Regions from separate parts of the Homo sapiens genome. Here region 2 is linked to region 1. Evidence: promoter capture Hi-C in 16 types of primary human blood cells and fetal thymus (Javierre and others, 2016). All regions are on one chromosome and are shown on one strand. The core of a region is centred on a gene start or on the middle of the fragment in contact, and the rest is flanking DNA. Distances in the headings are between cores, read along the strand shown.

Region 1 (4,453 bases), core at 1,146-3,645:
TCACCATGTTGGCCAGGCTGGTCTCGAACTCCTAATATCAGGTGATCTGCCCACCTCGGCCTCCCAAAGTGCTGGGATTACAGGCGTGAGCTACCGCGCCTGGCAGGTTCCTTAATTTTCAAAGGGTAAGACTCAGAAGAGAGGCCGGGCGTGGTGGCTCCTGCCTATAATCCCAGCACTTTGTGTTTTTGTTTTTGTTTTTTTGAGATGGAGTCTCGCTCTGTCACCCAGGCTGGAGTGCAGTAGCACGATCTCGGTTCACTGCAACCTCTTCCTCCCGGGTTCAAGCCAGTCTCCTGCATGAGTCTCTCCTGCACCAGTCTCATGCAGGTGCATGCCACCACACCTGGCTATTTTTTTGTATTTTTACTAGAGACAAGGTTTCATCATGTTGGCCAGGCTGGTTTTGAACTCCTGACCTCAGGTGATCAGCCTGTTTCGGCCTCCCAAAGTGCTGGGATTATAGGCGTGAGACACCACGCCCAGCCTAATCCCAGCACTTTGGGAGGCCAAGGTGGGTGGATTGCTTGAGTCCAGGAGTTTGAGACCAGCCTGGGAAACATAAGGAGACTTTGTGTCTACAAAAAATAAACAAAACCAGCAGGGCATGGGACATATGCCTGTAGTCCCAGGTACTAGGGAGGGTGAGGTGGGAGGATCGCTTGAGTCTGGGACGTCGAAGCTGCTGTGAGCCAAGATGGTGCCACTGCACTCCAGCCTGGGAGCTAGAGCAAGACCCTGTCTCTAAACACTAAAACTAAAACTAAATAAATAAAATGAAAAAAAAAAATAGATTCAAGGGTGGGCGTGGTGGTTCATGTCTGTAATTCCAGCACTTTGGGAGGCCAAGGCAGGTGAATCACTTGAGGTCAAGAGTTTGAGACCAGTCTGTCCAACATGGTGAAAACCCGTCTCTACTAAAAATACATAAATTAGCCATGCGTGATGGCTGGAGCCTGTAATTCCAGCTACTTGGGAGGCTGAGACAGGAGAATCGTTTGAACCTGGGAGGTGGAGGTTGTAGTGAGCCGAGATGGCGCCACTGCACTCCAGCCTGGACGATAGAGTGAGACTCCATCTCAAAAAAAAAAAAAAAAGGCCAGGTGTGGTGGCTCACGCCTGTAATCCCAGCACTTTGGGAGGCCAAGGCGGGCAGATCACGGGGTCAGGAGATCAAGACCATCTTGGCTAACACGGTGAAACCCCATGTCTACTAAAAATACAAAAAATTAGCTGGGCGTGGTGGCGGGCACCTGTAGTCCCAGCTACTCAGGAGGCTGAGGCAGAATGACGTGAACCCAGGATGGGGAGGTTGCAGTGAGCCGAGATCCTGCCACTGCACTCCAGCCTGGGCGATAGAACCAGACTCTCTCAAAAACAAAACAAAACAAAACAAAACAAAAGCCCAGGCACAGTGACTCACACTTGTAATCCCAGCACTTTGGGAGGCCGAGGTGGGTGGATCACTTGAGGTCAGGAGTTTGAGACCAGCCTGACCAATATGGTGAAAACCCATCTCTACTAAAAAAAAAATACAAAATTAGCCAGGCGTGCTGGTGCAGGCCTTTAATCCTAGCTACTTGGGAGGCAGGAGAATCACTTGAACCTGGGAGGCAGAGGTTTCAGTGAGCTGAGATTGCGCCATAGCACTCCAGCCTGGGCAACAAGAGCGAAACTCTGTCTCAAAAAAGAAAAAGAAAGAAAAAAGACTCAGTAACAGACACAGCAGTATCACATGAATTAGGACAGGTCATTCTTGAAAATGAGCACAAGTAGCCTATCCAGAATAATTCTCTTTCTTGGTAGGAAATGATGATGAGCAGAAAATTAATCATTGAGAGAGGAACCAGACAAATCCTCTAGCATATGGCCAGGTCCAGTCCAGCTATTCTAGAGCATTGAACTCCACCTCAGTGCATTCTGCAAGCTTTCAGTCTCTACTCATGTGCTCATCAGGGAATAGGGAAGTAAAGATACTGTGTGAAAGTGCTGTCTGTGTTGTTATGTAATTGGTGCCTTCACAGATGAGGTCATTAAATATTTTCCCAGTCAGCCTGCCCAGCCAGAAGGGTCACTGTGGCCATCTAATCTAACTCTTCCTGTTCTTCAGCTGAGGACACTAAGGACCACAGTAATAAAGTTAATTACCAAAGCCTCTTGTATACTACTTTACCTCATATGTTAAGTCTGGTGATAAATTATAAAAAGAACTAGAAGAAAACATGGACAACATTTTTTTTTTTTTGAGATGGAGTTTCGCTCTGTCACCCAGGCTGAAGTGCAGTGGCGTGATCTTGGCTCACTGCAGCCTCTGCCTCCCGGGTTCAAGCGATTCTCCTGCCTCAGCCTCCCAAGTAGCTGGGACTATAGGCACACACCACCACGCCCAGCTAAATTTTATATTTTTAGTAGAGACAAGGTTTCACCATGTTAGCCAGGATGGTCTCAAACTCTTGACCTCATATCCACCTACCTCAGCCTCCCAAAGTGCTGAGATTATAGGTGTAAGCCACCACGCCCGGCCATGGACAACATTTTTATAATTTTAGAATGGGAAAAGCCTTTCTAAGCAAAATAGATATAATTGTTAAGAAGAGTGAGATCCATCTATATGAATATGGTAGAATGGAAATATCTGTTCATTGTTAAATTAAAACAACAAAAAGGTGCTCTTCGCGTGCTCCAGGATACATCTTGTTGGAAAGTGTGACCAGCCAGTGAAAACTGGGAAGAGTATCCCTAAAAAAGTTGGAGGTGGTCTCATCTTATACAAGGAGGCTGCCAGATCTTTTGTTAGGCTCTCATCAGCACCTGAGGGAGAATAAAACTACAGAGTAAAAGGAAAATCACTGGCCATCCGGGGAAAAGCTTGCATCACAATCTGATCTCATCTCAATTGAGGCCTTACCAAGTTGCTAAAATAAAAACAAATTGTTTAAAAATCATCTTAACAGGAAAACAGATATTGTCCAGAATATGGAAATGGATTTTAAATGGCATTTTTACATAAAAGCTAAAAATATCTAATGTTTATAGTCAAAGCAAAAATGAAATAAATACTCTTCTAGACACACATACACAAACAAACACAGGACCTATAATGTATATACAGATATGCACACGTATTAATGTAAAATTCCAGAAACCGATGATAATGTTAAATCCAGGAAGAGAGACCAAGGTTTGCAGAGGAGAGATTCAATCATTTTTCAATGTATGCCTTTTTATACTATTATGGTTTTCAGTTATTTTCATAACTAAATTTTTTTAAAAGAAAAAATATGGATAGACTTTGAATGTAATGAGTTTGATACAAAAGCTCCTATAAAAGAGAAGACGCCAAACATATGTTGCCCTGGGGACAAGAACTGAATGTATGGGACCTCAGATGGATGCTTTCTGAGCACTTAATCCAGAATCAAACACTTTGCTTGCCTTTCTCATGCTCTGCTTTTGTGAGGGTCAGTAATGCCCACTGTTGCTAAGAAACATTACTATTTAGGAACTTCTCTATGGAAGGATAATTACATTTGCTCTCTACTATAAATATCTACATGGATGTCTGAAGAATATTTGACTAATTGGGTTTAGGAGCAGGAATCCAATACCTAAGTAAATAGCCTCTTTCTAATTGATTGACACATGGAATTGAACTTGTACCTGTGGTGAGAAATATGGGAAAATTTGCTTTCTAAAAAATTCTTTGGGCCAGACACAGCAGCTCACGCCTGTAATCCCAGCACTTTGGGAGGCCGAGGCGGGCAGATCACAAGATCAGAAGTAGGAGACCAGCCTGACCAACATGGTAAAACCCCGTCTCTACTACAAATACAAAAATTAGCCGGGCGTGGTGGCGCATGCCTCCAGCTACTCAGGAGGCTGAGGCAGGAGAATCGCTTGAACCCTGGAGGCAGAGGTTGCGGTGAGCCAAGATCGCGCCACTGCACTCCAGCCTGGGCGACAGAGTAAGACTCCATCTCAAAAAAATAAAAAAACTATGCTAGATTAAATTGTTTCATGTTAGTTTAGCGGTTCCATTTTCACGTCTCAATATATTTTACTTAGTTTTTGTTTGTTGGTTGGTTGGTTTGTTTTGAGACAGAGTCTCTCTCTGTCACACAGGCTGGAGTGCAGTGGTGCGATCTCAGCTCACTGCAACCTCCCCTTCCTAGGTTCAAGCAGTTCTCCTGTCTCAGCCTCCTGAGTAGCTGGGACTACAGGCACATGCCACCATGCCTGGCTAATTTTTTTTTTTTTTTTTGAGGTGGAGTCTCTCTCTGTCGCCAGGCTGGAGTGTAGTGGCACAATCTCAGCTCACTGCAACCTCTGCCTCCTGGGTTCAAGTGTTTCTCCTGCCTCAGCCTCCTGAGTAGCTGGGACTACAGGCGTGCATCACCATGCCCAGCTAATTTTTGTATTTTTAGTAGAGACGGGGTTCACCATGTTGGCCAGG
Region 2 (4,453 bases), core at 519-3,018, 170 kb after region 1:
TCAAAGGTCATCTTGATGATCGCAGGCTCTCCTAAGTACTCCATAGCAATGCCCCCAAAAAACTTCCTTAGCCTCCCCACTGGATGGACAAAAAGCCTGAGGTTGAGGGGGTCACATGAATCACCTGGGGATCTTGTTAAAATGAAGGTTCTGATTCAGCAGGTCTGCAGCAGTGCCTGAGACTATATTCCTAACAAGCTCCAAAGATGCTGGTTTAGAGACCACACTTTGTTGTTGTTATTTTTCTTTTTAGACTGAGTCTCACTCTGTTGCCCAGGCCAGAGTGCAGTGGTGCAACCTCAGCTTGCTGCAACCTCAGCCTCCCGAGTAGCTGGGACTACAAGCACGCGCCACCACGCCCGGCTAATTTTTGTGTTTTTAGTAGAAACGAGGTTTTGCCATGTTGGCCAGGCTGGTCTCGAACTCCTGACCTCAGGTGATCCACCCGCCTTGGCCTCCCCAAGTGCCAGGATTACAGGTGTTTGAGTCACGTCGCCTGGCCAGGGACCACATGTTGAATAGAGAGGGGTTAAGCAGAAGGGATGGCCAGAGAGCAGCATATTAACCTTGGTTTCTGGCCTCCTAGCCTGATGTAGTAAGACTGGGATATTCCCCTCCCTACAAATGTCTGTGTCTCTGGAAATGACTCAGGGATTCTGTCCAAGACTGCAAGCCCTGAGAAGCTGTGTTTGACTCATCTCTGTGCCCCTAAGCCTGAGGTAGGGACTCAGCCCATTTGCTGGCTCATGACTAAGAAAACTCATAGAGCAGAAATAAAAGGGCCCACCTGGTTTGGTCTTAGCTCTGCAATGTCTCCAACCACTAGACTCTCCATCAGCTTCACCCGGTCACTACCAAGTATCTTGGTCTGGGGAAGAGATTGAAAGCCTCAGGCCATTGCAACAGCTACAATCCAAAAGGCTACTAAGCAAGGATGCATCCTCCCTGCCATCCACAGTGCAGTCCAGCCCACCCAAAGTGACTAACCAGTCTTTTGGTTCTACACGTGGCAAAGGACCACCTTCTGATTTCCTGACCTCCCCCAGTCACTCTGTGTGGGGGGACTGCCAGGGAACTGGACAGGACCTAGCACCTTCCTGAAATAACCCCTTTTCAAACCAACATCCAGCCCAATACATGAGAGTGGGTGTCAGCCCTGGAAAACCCGGGACATTAAGGCACACCATTTAATGGGGGCAAGCTAGAAGGATGAGATGATGAGACCCTCTGAGCTCATTTCCTTGGGGCCATTGACCTATCCATGACACCCCCATGACCTCTAGCTCTTCTGAGAAGGCTGTCCTTGGAATCCAGTTCACAGCAAACAAAGCCAAGGAGTGGACCACTGTAAACAGGGAGGAAGGCCTGATCAGATGGCCAGTGTGCTCCCCTGGCTCACCTGCAGCATATGAGACACGTCAAAGAGCGAGCAGTGCTGGCGTGTGTGCAGGTGCGAGTCAGTGTGACTGTCCCGGTACTGCACTGGCAGACTCCAACCCGCAAACGCCACCATTTTCCCGCCGTGGGCCAGGTGGAAGTCATAGAGCGGTGTCCTGCGGAGCACCTCCTGTGGGCGGCTGGGCTTAGTGCCACCAGGGCCCTAGCCCCCAGCCGCTTCCCTCCCCCACCCTCCAAGATCAGCACCCTCTATCCCACCTGTGCGCAACTAAGTGGACGACACAAGGCCGGGGGGAATGCCTGCAGGCGAAAGCCCAGACGGGCCACCACACTTACAGCCCTCTGCATCGTCGCCTGCAACGAGTGCAGACGGCGCACAGAGGCCACCACACTGCCAGGCACGCCGGGAGATGTAGTCCAGGCCTCTGCTCGGACAGGTCTCTCTCCGGAGCAAAGGATCTGAAGGGGGCGTGGGCAGCCCCAAGGGCAGGCTGGGATTTAGAGCAGAGAATGCAGGAACCCGCAACCACAGGGAAGAAGCCTCCAGCTCTTTCGGCTGACTCTTCAGGGCAGCTCGGGCAATCCAGAGCTGATTGGGCTGCCCAGAACAAAGCTAGGGGCTAGACCGCCCCCTGCAGAACCGCCCTGTCTCCAGAGGGTCAAAGTTCTGGAAAGGGCTGAAAGGTCTGAATCATACCTTTAGGACCTCAAGAGAGTAAGGTCAAGTGGGGGTGGGGAAGGTGGGCCAGCCTGGCAGGTAGGCAGCACCACAGTAGTCTGTCCTCATGTGGACCCCTAGTTCCACAGCTCTCCCACCAGGCAGACACAGGCAGCCAGCAGTCATGCATTCCACAAGTATTTATTGATCTTACTGCATACCAGGCCCTCAGATGGGGACACAGCCACGAATGAAGCATGGTCCCTGCTACCACAAGGTCCTCTTCACTTACACACACACTGAGGACTACTGCTTCGTCACGCTTTCCGAAGCAGCTGAGTGGGGCTATGTAAGTGACCTTGCAGATGAAGTCGCCACCTGCAAGAACTCACAGGTGAGAACAGAGGGTGGCCACCAAAAGGTCACTGAACTCCCCCGAGAAAACTGTTGAGCCACACACATGTCCAACTTTCCAGGTCCAAGACATACTGCAGTACTGCTTTGTAATAGCCACCAGGTGCAAAGCCAGGAAGAACCAGAGGGAAACAGGTTTTTCTCACATGAGGGAAGAGCAGCCTGCATCACTTAATGGTTGGACTGAGTTAATGCAGGACTTAGGCCTCTTAAAAGGCAACAATGAGAACCCTTACTTGGACCCACTCCCCACCACGGTTGATCTCTCATTATGCTGAGCATATCTCTTGGAAAGGGGCAGGGCGGGCGCGGTGGCTCATGCCTGTAATCCCAGCACTTTGGAAGGCCAAGGCAGGCAGATCACCTGAGGTCAGGTGTTTGAGACCAGCCTGACCAACATGGAGAAACCCCATCTCTACTACAAATACAAAATTAGCCAGGCATGGTGATGCATGACTGTAATCCCAGCTACTCGGGAGACTGAGGCAGGAGAATTGCTTGAACCTGGGAGGCGGAGGTTGCAGTTAGCCAAGATTGCACTATTGCACTCCAGCCTGGGCAACAAGAGCAAAACTCAACCTCAAAAAAAACAACAAAAAAGGAGAGGGGCAACTGGGAGAAAGGATAGAGATGTGCTTTGGGCTATGTCAGATGGCAGAAGGGTCCCAGTTCTTTTTTTTTTGTTTGTTTGTTTAAGATGGAGTTTCGCTCTTCTTGCCCAGGCTGGAGTGCAATGGCATGATCTCAGGTCCGCAACCTCCACTTCCCGGGTTCAAGAGATTCTCCTGCCTCAGCCTCCCAAGTAGCTGGGATTACAGGTGCCTACCACCACGCCCAGCTAATTTTTTGTATTTTTAGTAGAGACGGGGTTTCTCCAGGTTGGTCAGGCTGGTCTTGAACTCCTGACCTCAGGTGATCCGCCTGCCTGGGCCTCCCAAAGTGCTGGGATTACAGGCGTGAGCCACTGCACCCTGCCTAGAAGGGTCCCAGTTCTTATGCTCAGGCCCTGGTTTTGCTAGAGACACGTGCCCAGGCCCTATGGGCACACCCACTTGAACATATATTCAGGAGCCAGCTCAGAAACCAAGAGACTCAGGCTGCCCAAATCTTCAGGTTTCCTTCCTAGGCAGGCAGCAGAAGAGTTCAGACAGGAAATTTCTCTCTGTGGCATAACACAAATGGAAAGAAAACCACTAGGGGACACACAGGAAGAAATAAGGTTTCTGTTTCTTCCTCAAGTGTCCCAAGTGCCATGGCAGCAATGGCCTTCCAGGTCCATACATGGAGCAGGTTTTAGTAGGTCAGCCCAGCCCAACTGCACTGACATGAGGGAGCAGGCAGAAGACAGGAATGTGCATGTTGCCAGAAGGGGCAGAGGGCACTCAGGGATTCTCAGTAAGTACAACTGACTGGAGTGTTTTTGGGTAGAAGGAAGAATTGAGTTGCAGCCAGGCGAAGACAGAGCACCCCCATGCCAGGAGCTCATGCTGAAGTAACACGGTAAGCCCCTGAGAATCCTGAATCTGTGAATGTGGCCCAGACAGAACAGGCATGCAGGCAACACTTGGAATGCACAGGAAATACACTTCAGCCTCTGGTGGCCCAAACCAAGTCTGGGTGGGCACAGAAAGGCCAACATCTTGGCTAGGAGCAACCATTCAAGTGTAGGAGAGCAAGTTCAGGTCATAACAGCCATCCACCTGAAATACAAAAGACCATCAGGTCTGATCTGCTCAGGGCAAAGCAAGCCAAGCAGAAGGAAGCGATTACTTACATCAAAGCGGCCGATCCTTGCGGAGGTGTGACTGGCCCGGATCATCTCTGTCAGTGCCCACATCTGCTGCACCTCGGAGGATACCCTGCTGGGGTCTGGGAGACCCTGCTCCAGAAGGAGGGGTCAGTGGCCATGGGTCTCTCCCCAGCAGTGCCCTTCAGGCTCCAGAGAGGCCAACCTGGGCTAGGGGCCCTCCAGCTGAGACCAAC

Evidence for each region. The method cuts DNA at HindIII sites, captures the fragments that hold promoters and counts their contacts. A CHiCAGO score of 5 or more calls a contact.
Region 2: the fragment with the promoter of AMT here is called in contact with a fragment that was not itself captured in region 1 in 3 of 17 cell types (M0 macrophages, M1 macrophages and M2 macrophages); the score reaches 6.9 in M0 macrophages.

What each region holds. Positions count from the first base shown.
Region 1 is chr3:49,247,044-49,251,496 of GRCh38, forward strand. The region is part of intron 6 of IHO1 (interactor of HORMAD1 1); the gene reads left to right. Among named protein-coding and RNA genes, the nearest start is that of MIR4271, 25 kb to the right of the region's middle. RefSeq lists an enhancer at 2,075-2,124. The HindIII fragment of the contact is 941 bases long and covers 1,926-2,866 here.
Region 2 is chr3:49,420,705-49,425,157 of GRCh38, forward strand. It overlaps AMT (aminomethyltransferase), which reads right to left and starts at 1,769. Exons shown (of 9, transcript NM_000481.4): 1 at 1,657-1,769; 2 at 1,400-1,567; 3 at 788-868. The coding sequence starts at 1,746. NICN1 (nicolin 1, tubulin polyglutamylase complex subunit) reads right to left here. Exons shown (of 6, transcript NM_032316.3): 5 at 4,245-4,349; 6 at 1,629-4,170. The coding sequence ends at 4,129. RefSeq lists enhancers at 644-1,396, 1,397-2,150. The HindIII fragment of the contact is 5,136 bases long and covers 1-4,453 here.